Regions from separate parts of the Homo sapiens genome. Here regions 2, 3, 4 and 5 are each linked to region 1. The links are contacts of gene promoters, found by promoter capture Hi-C in blood cells and fetal thymus (Javierre and others, 2016). All regions are on one chromosome and are shown on one strand. The core of a region is centred on a gene start or on the middle of the fragment in contact, and the rest is flanking DNA. Distances in the headings are between cores, read along the strand shown. Region 1 holds the start of EDEM1 (ER degradation enhancing alpha-mannosidase like protein 1). Region 2 overlaps SETD5 (SET domain containing 5). Region 3 overlaps LMCD1 (LIM and cysteine rich domains 1). Region 4 overlaps LMCD1-AS1 (LMCD1 antisense RNA 1). Region 5 overlaps LMCD1-AS1 (LMCD1 antisense RNA 1).

The links. Contacts are between HindIII fragments. The CHiCAGO score rates a contact against its expected background, and 5 or more counts as called.
Region 2: a contact is called between a fragment that was not itself captured here and the fragment with the promoter of EDEM1 in region 1, in 1 of 17 cell types (naive CD8 T cells). The highest score is 7.0, in naive CD8 T cells.
Region 3: a contact is called between a fragment that was not itself captured here and the fragment with the promoter of EDEM1 in region 1, in 1 of 17 cell types (endothelial precursors). The highest score is 9.0, in endothelial precursors.
Region 4: a contact is called between a fragment that was not itself captured here and the fragment with the promoter of EDEM1 in region 1, in 1 of 17 cell types (M0 macrophages). The highest score is 5.8, in M0 macrophages.
Region 5: a contact is called between a fragment that was not itself captured here and the fragment with the promoter of EDEM1 in region 1, in 2 of 17 cell types (total CD4 T cells and naive CD8 T cells). The highest score is 7.1, in total CD4 T cells.

What each region holds. Positions count from the first base shown.
Region 1 is chr3:5,186,404-5,189,030 of GRCh38, forward strand. It overlaps EDEM1 (ER degradation enhancing alpha-mannosidase like protein 1), which reads left to right and starts at 1,304. Exons shown (of 12, transcript NM_014674.3): 1 at 1,304-1,911. The coding sequence starts at 1,403. RefSeq lists silencers at 933-1,342, 1,583-1,752, 1,803-2,092 and an enhancer at 2,243-2,292. The HindIII fragment of the contact is 7,598 bases long and covers 94-2,627 here.
Region 2 is chr3:9,398,941-9,401,567 of GRCh38, forward strand. The region is part of intron 1 of SETD5 (SET domain containing 5); the gene reads left to right. Among named protein-coding and RNA genes, the nearest start is that of SETD5, 2.6 kb to the left of the region's middle. The HindIII fragment of the contact is 571 bases long and covers 1,024-1,594 here.
Region 3 is chr3:8,507,420-8,510,046 of GRCh38, forward strand. All of the region lies in intron 1 of LMCD1 (LIM and cysteine rich domains 1), which reads left to right. Among named protein-coding and RNA genes, the nearest start is that of LMCD1, 6.9 kb to the left of the region's middle. The HindIII fragment of the contact is 1,614 bases long and covers 527-2,140 here.
Region 4 is chr3:8,489,054-8,491,680 of GRCh38, forward strand. All of the region lies in intron 3 of LMCD1-AS1 (LMCD1 antisense RNA 1), which reads right to left. Among named protein-coding and RNA genes, the nearest start is that of LMCD1-AS1, 11 kb to the right of the region's middle. The HindIII fragment of the contact is 181 bases long and covers 1,224-1,404 here.
Region 5 is chr3:8,346,371-8,348,997 of GRCh38, forward strand. The region is part of intron 3 of LMCD1-AS1 (LMCD1 antisense RNA 1); the gene reads right to left. Among named protein-coding and RNA genes, the nearest start is that of LMCD1-AS1, 150 kb to the right of the region's middle. The HindIII fragment of the contact is 986 bases long and covers 849-1,834 here.

The DNA of each region.
Region 1 (2,627 bases), core at 54-2,553:
AGTGCCACATGACAACTTACCTTCTTATGCACTCCATTGGTCGGCCATTCAGCCAATATCAGATTTGGGGGTCTAGTCAGGTCTTGCTTCCCAAGCTTTTCAGAAACCCTGATGAAACAGGCATAGGGTCTAAACTTAGGGAGGGCAAAACTTACAGCCAACTCCAAATGCAGCAAGCAAAATAAATAAGCGCCTAAACCATTGAATCTTTATGTGAAAGCCATAGCCCTTTAGAGCTAACATTTGCAATCTTCTTAATTATAGGAAGTAGATACAGAGGGGTAAAGTTATTTAACTGGGAATCTACCCCACACCTCAAAGGTTAGGTCACTAATTGCGGGTGCACAGGAGAGATGGTAGGATGGGAGGGACAGGAGAAGACATGTTTAGATATATCTGGTAAATAATTTGGTGGTGGTGGGAGCCTTCATTCCCACCCCCAACCCGCCCCCCCCTTTTAAAAAAATCCTATTTCCGAGACAAAAGCAATATAACATAACTTTGTATTTCCTGAAACTTCCAGTTTCTAAGAACTGTCCAAGAGTACTTACACGCACATTCCCGAGACCGTTGGAGTTGTTCGATAGGTCTAGGGAGGGATCTGGGGATACGTGTTTTACAAGCACCATGAGCGATTCTTCAAAGTTGGGTGTTTGAATCAAAAGAGCAGAATTCATGATACCGTTTTGTGCACTCCTTGAGCTAAAAGGTAGTATCCCACCCTCTCCATAAACAGACACCTAAGTTATAAAACTTATGCGCTCGATATGCAAAAATAGCTCGTTTTATACAGAAACGATCCTTTCCTTCTTTTCCTTATATATCTTTTAACTGTCATCACTCCTAACCTAGACCTAGAGTGGCTTTTTCCGGTCCTAGCTCTGCCGGACACACGCTCTGCCCAGAGACCCGATCCACCCAAGGCCAGGCGGTCTGGGGTCACGTCTGTGTCCAGCGTCCGGCGGGCGCTGCCGTGCCGCTCTCCCATTGGCTGGAAGTTCCCTCGCGGGCCGGCGCGGCTCCTGCTCGCCACGCCAGCCCATCGGGCTACGGACCGCCCAGGGGGGCGGGGCTTGGGAGTTGGGGCGGGGCCCGGGTGAGGGGCGGGGCCTCGGGGCGTCGCGGACGTCCTGGCGGCCTACTGCGTGGGAGGGAGTCCTGGGCCGCGCCCCGCGAGGCCGGGCCCAGGCCGGGCCAATCCCGGGCCACTGGGCGGGCGACCGTGGGGCCTGGCCGGCCCGCCGGAGAGCCTGGGGGTTGGGGACGATGGGCTAGTTCCTGGTGCGTCACGGGGGAGTTCCTTAAAGGGGAAGCGAGCCGGGCTACGGGGCGAGCGCGGGGTGCGGTGGTCGGCGGGGAGGCCCCCGCGCTTTAAAATAATGCCCGCGGCGCCCGCGCGACCATGCAATGGCGAGCGCTCGTCCTGGGGCTGGTGCTCCTCCGGCTTGGCCTCCATGGAGTATTGTGGCTCGTCTTCGGGCTGGGGCCCAGCATGGGCTTCTACCAGCGCTTTCCGCTCAGCTTCGGCTTCCAGCGTCTGAGGAGCCCCGACGGCCCCGCGTCGCCCACCTCGGGGCCCGTGGGCCGGCCTGGGGGGGTATCCGGGCCGTCGTGGCTGCAGCCGCCGGGGACCGGGGCAGCGCAGAGCCCGCGCAAGGCTCCGCGGCGTCCTGGGCCGGGGATGTGCGGCCCAGCCAACTGGGGCTACGTGCTGGGCGGCCGGGGCCGCGGCCCGGACGAGTACGAGAAGCGCTACAGCGGCGCCTTCCCTCCGCAGCTGCGTGCCCAGATGCGCGACCTGGCACGGGGCATGTTCGTCTTTGGCTACGACAACTACATGGCTCACGCCTTCCCCCAGGACGAGCTCAACCCCATCCACTGCCGCGGCCGTGGGCCCGACCGCGGGGACCCGTGAGTAGCCCCCGCCGCCCGGGGCCGCGCGCCCACGCGCTTCCTTCCGCCCTCCGCGCCGGGGTGCAGCCCTCTGTCCTCCGGGGCCCCCGAGGGCGCCAGGGCCGTTAGGGTCCCGGGCAGCGCTCCCGCGCCCTGTCCCGTGTGAGTCCCTGTGAAGACCCCCGAGCTTGAGGGTGCGGGGTGGGCCGGTGGCCTTCCTCTCCTGATTCTCCCGGAATCTCCAAACTTCAGAACTGCTGTCCAGCTCAGTGTCTTACGCGTGAGGATACTGAGGTCCAGGACCAGAAGGGACAGTGGCAGTGCCAAGGGCTGGCTTGGAGGGCTTTCCACTTCCATCCGACCCCTTCCTCCGGATGAGCATAAACTCTAAATGAAATCTCCATCATGCCCCCCGTGTAAACGCAGCCTCAGAACAAGCCTTTACCTCGCACCCCCACCTCTATCACATTGCCACACCCACGTCTTTTCTATGTAAAAAGCCTATAGTTGACTTCTCCAAAGCCGTCCATTGAGTTTGAGGCAGAACGGGGTTACAGCCTCTCCTTCACAGGGGCTGCTTCTTAGGCTGAGGATAGTTAGGTGGTGGGGAGGGAAGCTATGTGGCCCACTTTTGGGGTCCAGATACTTGAGGTGAAATTCACTGGATGCCAGATTGACTGTCAACGTCATCGCCCTGTACGATCTGTCTATAAATCCCCCGCCTCTGGTGGCGT
Region 2 (2,627 bases), core at 59-2,558, 4.2 Mb after region 1:
ATGACCTGCATTTTCTGCTTTCTCATGTTACTTGTGCAATGTATTCACCGGTAACTCATTTCTTTCCCAGACCTCTGGGTTCCACTGGGCTTTGTCTATATTTAAGTTCATTTCTCCAGTTTCCTTCCTGCACATAGGTACTGAACGAATCCCCAAGTTCTGTGCTAATTACCTTCATCAGTTGACTAAACAAGTTTTTAGATGACATATTTGTGACCAAGGTCATATTTACATTTCTTTGTTGGACAGATGTTACATAGCTATACTTGTGATTGGGGAGGATCCAGCTGAGTGGAGTGTGCTGAGCTTTTTAGGAGAGTGTGTACTCCCTATTTGAAATTATTTTTTGGTTGTTAATTTTATATTATTAATGTTTTTAGGTCACAGAAAGTTCTAAGTGGTAATTTTAGATGTGTGGGATCTGAGCTAGGACTAAAGCAGAGAATACCCACGTAATCAGAGGTTTCTGGGCTCCATAGAGGACGTAGGGCTTTTTTTTTTCTATTGGATTTCTTCCAGTTTTCTCAGGATCATTAGTTCTCTTCTGTAGCCAAAAATTCTGGCCTGTTATGGGATTAGAGTCTTTAAGGTTTACTCAGACTGTCATTATGTGTAGAAAAATGAATTATGCCCTTTGGTAGGACATGACACAAGGCTCTGTTTCTAGCTGCAAATTTAAATTAGATTGTAGAGTGCTTGGGAAATTGGCTTTCAAAAGACCAAAGCTTAATCTTCACTCCTAAACTGCTGGCTTAATTAAAATGGATATTTAGAATTTGGTAAATGTTGATTTTTCTAATAAAAGGCCTTGGTTTAAAAGGGTGACCTTAGGATTGTTTCTTTCTTAAAAGCATAATTCCAGCCCTTCTGGCATGGAGCACTGGTCCAAAAAAAAAAAAAAAAAGTGTGTGTAAGGAGTGGGGGTGGGGTAAAGAGAAGGTTGTTCCTTTGGGTTGGATCACAGGGGTGAGTATACAAGGCAGCAGCAGCTGCTGGCTCTGGAGCTCTGGTTGCTACGTGAGAAGCTTGAGTAGTGCTGGCTGCTGTCTCCAGGGAAGGACAGCAGTGCAGCGTCCATTAATGCTGCTGGCTGCAGGGAGCAGCACTTAGGCGATGGCTGCTTCAGGACTAAGAAGAAACCTTGCTTTTCTGGGAATTTTCACTGCTGAGCTGGTTTGCTTTTTATTGGTGGGGAGATGGGAATTAGTAATTCATAATCTCCTACCCATTTATGGATATTGGCATCTGGAAACTGGATCATGGTTAAAGCCTTTCTTTTTTTGTTTGTTTGATTTGATTTTTGTTTTTTGGCAGATTTTTGTTTTTTATCTAGACATTTGTGCTTGGATAGGACTAAAAGTTCCATTAGAGTTTTAATTTTTCAATCAGTTTAAAAACCCAAGTAATAATTTTAAGAATCTTTCTGATAACCACAATAGGAAGAAAATAACAGGAATTTTTTCCTGCAGCTCACATATCATGCCTTCCTCCATCTCTTTAATCATAGAATCAATTCTTATTATTTTGTTATGTGTCTCCATCCTTTCGATTAGACCACATTTACCTTATAGACGATTTGCTAAACATTTTACTAAGCTTGAACTCTTAAACTCTAAAAAGGTGCCATTTTGGAGTGGTTTCTAAATAAATATTTTTAATTTGTATATTAGTAATAAACTTCTCCAGATTAGATATTTTCTTTGGAGTTTGACTTATAAGATTGATTCATTATATACATGTTGGATATAGCCTTCTGACATCACAAATATATGTCTTTGGCCATAATCCATCTGAAATGTAGGACAGACCAGAAGAAATATGCAGAAATCGAATAAGTCTAGTTCAGGATACTGAGAAGATGGCCTCTGAGCCCCTTAGGTGATCTCCCCTCCCCCACAACTCCTGAACATTAGGATGATCTCTGATTAAGCAAAACAGTCTGAGCGTGGAAAAACTTGAAGGAGAACCACCACCACCAATTATATGCAATACTGGACATATTCCTGTGTGCTGTTTTTCTTCCCCAAGACTCGTGTATCCTATACTTTTTTCTCTCAGAATTTTGATTTGTTCATTTTCGTGTAAATGTACTTAAATCTCACAAACATCTATAATTTGTAGTATCACTCTGGCATTTGTGGCAGAGAACCAAAAAGAATGGAAATGAGTTTTGTCATTCACAAATGTGGCTCACATTGTTTTCCCAGTAATAAAAGCAGACCAATGAAACAGAACCTTTAATGGATACTATTTTAGGAGGTTCCAATTCTTATTACTATCACATAGATAAGATGCAATAGCAGATAAATATGATTTCATGTATACTGGCTGTTTGACATACTTAGGGTTTAAGATAAAAATGTTTGTAGTTTTTTACTCTGTGGCTTAAGTTGCTATATAAAATAATTGCTTTTACACTCGAATTTCCTGTTGTTTGGAACCTTTTGTGCTCTTGATATTATCATTTTTTAGAGGATCATACAGGCCCTTTTCATAGAAGGATTTACTTAAGTTATACCCTTGAAAACTTTTTTATATCTTTTGATACTGTTTTGTGTCCAGGAACTGACTTTCTGAAATTATTCTGGCTTTTCTGGGGAGAATGACTATTTCATTTTTACCTTTGA
Region 3 (2,627 bases), core at 84-2,583, 3.3 Mb after region 1:
TCCCAAATCAACTCCTTGTCTCATATCTGCTCTTCTGTATGAGAAGCAAACCCTTTTACATTTTTTTCTCAGAAAAGAGAAAGGAGTCTGTTCTTACTTTTATTATCTATTTGGATTCTTGCCTCCCAACAGACTTGTTCTCTGTTAGGACAGGCAAGTTTGGGGCTAGGCAAAAGAGAGGAAGGAAAGACATCTCTAAGGGTCCGGAGATGATTGACATTTTCCTGTGTGTTAGCTCTTTAGCTTCAAGGACTACCATGCAAAAATATTGGTGTCCTTTTTTACACATGAGTAAGTTAAGACTAAGAGTTTGAAACGACTTGTCTAAGGTCACATAATGACAGATTAAGAACTCAAACTCAGGCCTCTCTGACTCCAAAACTTCAGTTCTTTTCACTCTGCAAGAAACAGAAGGCATTCGTAGAAAGCAGAAATCTGGTGAGGAGGGACTATGATTATTACTGTGACTTTCATACACAGATCAATTTCTTCCAGCCCACTGAACTCATTGATAGTCTGGTTCAGAAGCTTCCCAGCATTTGCAAAATGTTGCTAGGCACCTGTATCTCTTTGATATCTCTTGGTCACCACCAGGAGTATACTGTCACCTACACCAAATCAGAGCCATTTCTCGGGTATAGAATAAAGACTTTCTTGATTTCTCCTGGTTTTCCAGAAGGCTAATGGACATCTCCCGGCAGAAGACTAGTAGAGAGACCTTTTAAAGAATAATACATGTTATCCTAATACTCTAAAAATAATTCTAGAGACCTTGTCCCAGAGCTTTCAGGAAACTCTGCCCTGGGGATAAGGTTGGCCTTGACATGTGCATTTCTACATGTCTAGTCAGCCTGACCCATGGCCTACCCAATAATATATAAATCATGACCAAGCCAAACATGGCCTGGGCCCCCACCGGGACATGCTTTAAAAGGAAATATAATTGCTAAGGGAGAAGAAACAAAGGCTCCATTTGGCAAGTAACTCTATTGAAGGACAAAGGAGTGCCAGTGTCCAACTCAAGGTGGCTGTTTCAAATCCACATGCTTTGTGTATAGATTTTGTCTCCTCCTCCTGTTTAAAAAATATTGAATCCTTTGTAAAATTTATCTCTGGAGACAAAGGCTAATGAGCCATTGTCTAAAAGAGCTGAGCAGAATCTTGTTATCTGCTCATTCAACCCCTTCATGTCACAAATGGGACAGGGGGAGAAATGGCATATCTGAAATTTACAAAGAAAAAAATGGCACATCTGAACTTTACATAAGAAATGGCATATCTGAAATTTACAAACTTACATTTACATGAGTGGTGCCACAACCAAGATACATTGACTCACAGCATCTTTTATGAATGAAGGAGAAAAGAGTGTCTGCTGTATTCTGTCACTTCCACCCCCAGAGTATCCCAGTTTTGTGTCAACCTCATACCTTGAAACTCAGAAGTTCAGGTGGACATTTTGGCTGTGAACTTAGCTTTGGCCACAAGGTCCAGAAGCCACTTCGAGGAGCCGTTAAACACACAACATTTGCAAGCACAAAGATCTAGATGTGACCTGCAGCTCTTCAATTTGCCAGGTCTGCAAACTTCGCCAAGTTACTGATCCTCTCTGGACCTCTGGTTCCTCATTTGAGAAAGATAGCTCACCGTAGTTCTACATTTAAACGATAGTTTAATGAGGTAAAGTGCATAAAGTGCCTGGATACATAATATACCCTTGATAAACATTTCCTCCTGCTGTTATGGATACCCCCTCTCATCAGCATGATGCAAAAATCCCATAGGTTATTAAGTATTGGGATGTGGAAGACCAAATTCAGTTTACCTACATCACATGGGGCTTCTAAGCTCTCAGACTGCAGGACCTTCTCTTTGTAGTTAAACTTGGACCTAGCCATAAATATACTCAGGCCACATCACATTGCAAAATCATGAGAATAGCCACAATTCGTCTTGGGTGTTTGGTCGCTACCCTTTCCATAGCAGCCCTCCCCTGCTCCATTACCAGTCTTTCCCTCCAATGTCTTGCTTATAAGATAGGGCAACAGTCACTCATTTCTTTATATAGCAAATATTTATTTAGCATCTGTTATGTGCCAGCCACTGTGCTAAGTACTGAATACATGACAATGAATAGGAAAGCTTTGATCCCTGCCAAGTAAACTTGAGTCTGGTAGAATTTATTTTTCATAAGGCAGGAGACAGGCCAAATAATGTCAGTGTTCTGTGAGTCTTTGTGTTCCTTGACCTCTCCCCTCCCCAACACACACACATACCTCTCCTTCCTTTTCCAACCACCCTCAGATTTTCCAGGACACACACCTTCAGAGCCACATCTCAACTCTGGTCATCCCTACAGTGTAACAGTAGAATGAGTGTAGTAGTCCTCCCAGTTGTCACATTTTAAATAGGGCCTTTGGGAAGAAACCACCAGTGGCACTGAGTGAAAAGGAGGCTGAGGCAAGGGGGACTATTGGCAGCTCTTAGGTCCCACCAGCAGCCAGTGGTCCCTCAGCCTTCCTACAGCGATACAGTGGTAGACCAGTTGTCTTTGCTCAGCATATGTTTTCAGAGGCAGCTGAATGTTTGGGTTGTATTTTTCACAGTACTGATGTCAGGGACACCAA
Region 4 (2,627 bases), core at 64-2,563, 3.3 Mb after region 1:
CCGAAAAACCTTTCTCATGCTTTCTGGGACTCAGGAGCATAGTTCACCCTAAGATGCCCTCTGACCTGGTCACCCCAATTCTTCCTCTTGTACCCAAGGGCTGTGAGCCTCACTGCAGGATTACTGGCTCTTTGGGAGTAAACTAGGAAGTTCCTGAGTTCTCGAAGCCTTTTGTCACAGCTTTTCCAGTTCCTAGGCATGTGATGGGGGACAAGCATTCATGGTTATTACCAGGAGCTCAGAGAGACCAGAGTTCAACTCCCATCTCTGCCACCTGGCTCGGCATGACCACAGACAAGTTGCTTAATCACTTTGAGCTTCAGCTTCCTCATCTGTGAAATGGGAGTACTCAGAGGCCCTAACTCTAGGATTATTGGGAGGATTAAGTGTGACTATCTTTGTAAAGGGCTTGGCTCAGTGTCTACCCACATGGCAAGAGCTCCACAAATGTTAGCTCTTACTCTTTCTAATGGAGGAGTGTTTGGAGTTATTTATTTAGATGTCCTAGAAGTTAAGCCACTGGAATCTGATACTTTTGGTAATAGAGAACTATAAGCGCCAGCCAGACTCAATTTTTCTTGCCTCAAGGCCCATTCTTTTCCTGTCACAATGCTCCCATTCATTACCTTTTGTTGTAATTGTTTGTTTAACATCTGTCTTCCCCAAGAGAGTGAATCCTGTGTGTCTTTTTACATTGCTGCATGCCCAGCAGAACTCTTGATACAGAAAGAGATGTGCAATTGTTATTTGTTAAATGCCTGAAAGACTGCTCCACAGATTGAATAACTGAGTGATTCAATGAAAAAAAGAACAAACTAAATGATAGAAATTGGCCATTTATATTCAACTGGAGTATATAAAAGTAGTTTGCTAGCATGACAAGAGGTAGGACTACAGAATTGTAAATTTTACCTAGGAAATAGTAAGGTCTTTAGAGGAACACATAATAACTATTTCTGAATATATCGAAGAGTTTAATTCTGTGTTTGCTACCCATCAATGATGGGATAGGGAGGAACACCCTACTGCAAAGCATTACTCACTTCACACTCACATGGCCCTCAAATTGTACATCCCTTCCACCCTCCGTCATAATCCAGGATCTGTTTGACAGCTTCTGACTTCAGTGTGACTATCCATGTCAGATGACGTCATTGCTAAACCATGTGTCTTGGGTTGTGAGAAAAGCTAGGAGAATCAACAGGAAGGCCCAAAACTTTTAAAGCTTAATTTCTGATAAGTAAGAATCTTTCCTGAAATCTCCCACCCACTCTTTTCTTCTGGGTGAGCTCATCCAGTCTTTCCAGAAAGACTGATCAGCAGCAAGGCATTGCTGGACTTTGTCAGGGGGATTTGGTGTCTTCATACCTTGTTCATCAGCCACGAACACACTCATCTTTCAGAAGCTTTGGAATTCTGCCCGTGGCTGTCTGGACATTCTGCTGCATTCCCAAGGGGCCTCTTGGGATGTGCATGGTTAGCCACAGAAAATCCAAATTATGTTTTTAAATTATTACCTGCCTTGTGTGAACAAACTAAAATGGCCATTGAGCAACATGCTGACTATCCTATTTTCCTCCTAAAAATCTGTGGTTGTGATAAGTGGAACAATTATTTAATGCCATTTTTTGTCACAAGCGAAGAATGGACTCCCAAATGCAGCCTGGGCAAAATCTCTTTTTTTTTTTTTTTTTGAGACGGAGTCTCGCTCTGTCGCCCAGGCTGGAGTGCAGCGGCGCGATCTCGGCTCACTGCAAGCTCCGCCCCCCGGGTTCACGCCATTCTCCTGCCTCAGCCTCCCGAGTAGCTGGGACTACAGGCGCCCGCCACCACGCCTGGCTAATTTTTTGTATTTTTAGTAGAGACGGGGTTTCACCGTGTTAGCCAGGATGGTCTCCATCTCCTGACCGCCTGAGCAAAATCTTAAATGTCACTGGGAAGAGTTTCTCAGAGAACCAAACATGATAGCTAACTACCTGGCAATTGGCAAATAATTATACAGCTACCAAGTATCAAACACCTTCTCCATGCCAGGCACTAGGCTGCACGCTGGTTATTTAATCTGTGTGCCAGGACTATGAGGTTGGTAGTATTGCCTCCATTTTATAATAGGTGGATTGAGGATCATGGTAAGTAGCCAACCAGGGATTTGAACCAAATTTGTCTGACTCCAAAGCAGGAGCTTCTACCCCCTTACAGGTCATACCAGCTTACTGAGATAGGAGGGGAGGGCCACTGCCCACAAAGTGGAATATAATGGTGGAATCAAACTTAAGCAGAGTACCATAGTGCCTAAAATACGGAGAGGAGAGGAGGAGAAGGCCTCTCATGCGCATGATCCTAGCTTTCTAATAGATTAGCTGTCATCATGTGGGAAAGGGAGAGCCCTTCAAATAGATTCCAGAGGCTGGAAAAGCACAGAAGGGTGACAGCCCCAGGAAAGCAGATGTCAGCCCAAGGTAAAGAAGAACGTTCTAACAATCAGAGCTGTCCAAAAGTCCTTGGAACTGGCTGGTTAAAAAAAAAAAGGGGGTGGGGGTGGGGGAAATGAGCTGCTTGCCATGGAAAGCATCCAAGCAGAGGGAAGCACACCCTGTTGGGATGCTACAAAGTTAGGGGATACGATA
Region 5 (2,627 bases), core at 92-2,591, 3.2 Mb after region 1:
CTATAAAAGGATACTTGCTATTGAGTCATTTATTTTTTAAAAATAGGCTTATATAGCTGGTGGTTCTGCAAGCTAAGAAGTTCAAGGGTATGTCCCTGGCCTCTGCTGAGAGCTTTTGTGTTGCATCATAACATGGCAAAGAAGGTCAAAGGGGAAGTGGACACCTGAAGAGAGAGAAAAAACTGAGGGACATCCTGGGTTTGTGACATCACTCTCCCAGGAACTAATCCATTCCCAAGAGAACTAACACAGTCTCAAGAGAGTGAAAACTCACTCGCAGCCATGAGAACAATACCAAGCCATTCATGAGGGATCTGTCCCCATAACTGAACACCTCCCACTAGGCTCCACCTCTTAATGCCACCACATTAAGGATCAAATTTCAACATGAGTTTTGGTGGAGACAAACTATATTGAGAAACCATAGCAAGGGGGAACAAAGACAATATGGGATAAATAGGAAACAAAAGGCAAGATAACAGTTTAAACTTAAGCATATCAATAATAACATTAAATGTAAGTGTTACTCTTACATTTAATGTTACACCCTAATTAAAAAGCTGACAATTTCAAATTGGACAAAAATGCAAGACACAACCATATGCTACCTACAATAAACACACTTGTAATATAAGACACAAATATGTTAATATTAAAAGAATGAAAAAGATATGACATGCTAGCCTTAATCAAAAGAAACATATGATGGCTTTATTAATATTAGACAGAGAAGGTAAATGTTAGAGAAAAGAAAAGTATTGTGGACAGCAAATGTCATTTCATCATAATAAAGGGGTCATTCATCAAGATCATAAAACAATCCTAAATGTTTATAAACCTTATAAGTAAGCTTCAAAAAACATGAAGCAAAAGTTTTTTACAACCGTGGGACAAACAAATCAATCCACAAATATAATCATAGACTTCAATATTTTAAAATAACGGATAAAACAAGTAGACAGAAAATTAGTAAGGATATAGACTTAAATAACATTATCAATCAATTTTACCTAAATGGTCTTCATATTTACATTTATAAAGCACCCAATAAATGAAGTATGAATCAACATCCTCCTTTTGTTGTTTTGGCATCCAAGTGTCCAATTATTCCAGTGCCACTTGTTTAAGTGACTATTCTTTATACCCTGAATTGCATTTGCATTTTGCATCATATGCAAAACTTAACTTAAACTGTATCATAAATCTAGATGTGAAACTTAAAACTATGAAACTTCTAGAATAAAACAGAAGAGAAAGCCTTTGTCACTGGGTTAAATAAGAATTGTATATATATAACATCCAAAGCACATGTTATAAAAGAACAAAAAGATAAATTAGACTTCACCTAAATAATAAAAAAGTCAGCTTTTCAAATAAAAAGAGAATGAAAAGACATACCACAGACTGAGAGAAAATATTTGAAAATTACATATATAATAAAGAACACGTCTCCAAAATACATAAAGAACTCTCAACATTCAGAAATTTAAAAAAAAAACTGATTTTAAAACTAGGCAAAGATTTCTAAACTATTTCCAAAGAAAATGTATGGATGGCAAATAAGCACACAGGATATGTAATATCACTGGTTATTAGGGAAACATAAGTTAAAATTATGAGATGCCGCTATACACCTGGCAAGACAGGTAACATTTTAAATATCGACCATACTCAGTGCTGATGAGAACATGAAATAAGTTGGAACTCTCACGGTCAGAATGTAAAATGGTACAACCACTTTGGAAATCAGTGTGGCAGTTCTTTTTAAAGTTAAACATATACCTACCATATGCTCCAGCCACTCCACTCCTAGTATTTACCCAAGATAAATGAAAGCTTATGCTCACACAAAGATTTATATGTGGATGTTTATAGTGGCCTTATGTATAAAAATTGGCAACAAGCCAAATGCCCATCAACATATATCAATAGATAAGCAAGTCATGGTACATCTACACAATAGAATACAACAGTAATAAAAAGTAATGAACTACTGTTATACACTAAATGTGAATAAACCTCACAATAATCACTTTGAAAGAAAGCAATCCAAAAAGAGGAGGGCATGATGTATAATTTCGTTTACATAAAATTCTAGGAAATAAAAAGTAGCTTATAGTGCCAGAAAGCAGACCAGTGATTGCTGGGGATAGGGTCAGGGCAGATGGGAGGAAGAATTATGAAAGGAGCAAGGAAACTTTTGTAGGTCATGTGCATGTTCATTATCTTTATTTTGGTTATCATTTCACATGTATATAACATTGTACTTTTTAAATGCATGCATTGTATTATACGCCATCCTATTTTAATTTGTTTGCTTTAAAAACAAAACAAACAAAAACAGTACAACAACAAAAACAAAAAAGACCAGAAAAAAAAAAAAAAAAAAGGCTGGGAGATGTGAAAAAGGACCCAAACTACAATGTAAGGGTGTGAACAAGGATAAAGGAGAAGTTAGGTAAATTGGGTATTTAGGAGACAGTATAGTGTCGTCTATTTTCTATAATTACAGATTTAAAATAAGTTGAAAGTTTTTGCAAGAGATTTTAAAACAATTCAAAGTATCACAAAACAGCACCAAGCAAATTTCATTTCAAATGTTGACACTCACTAGCTGTTGGATCTGG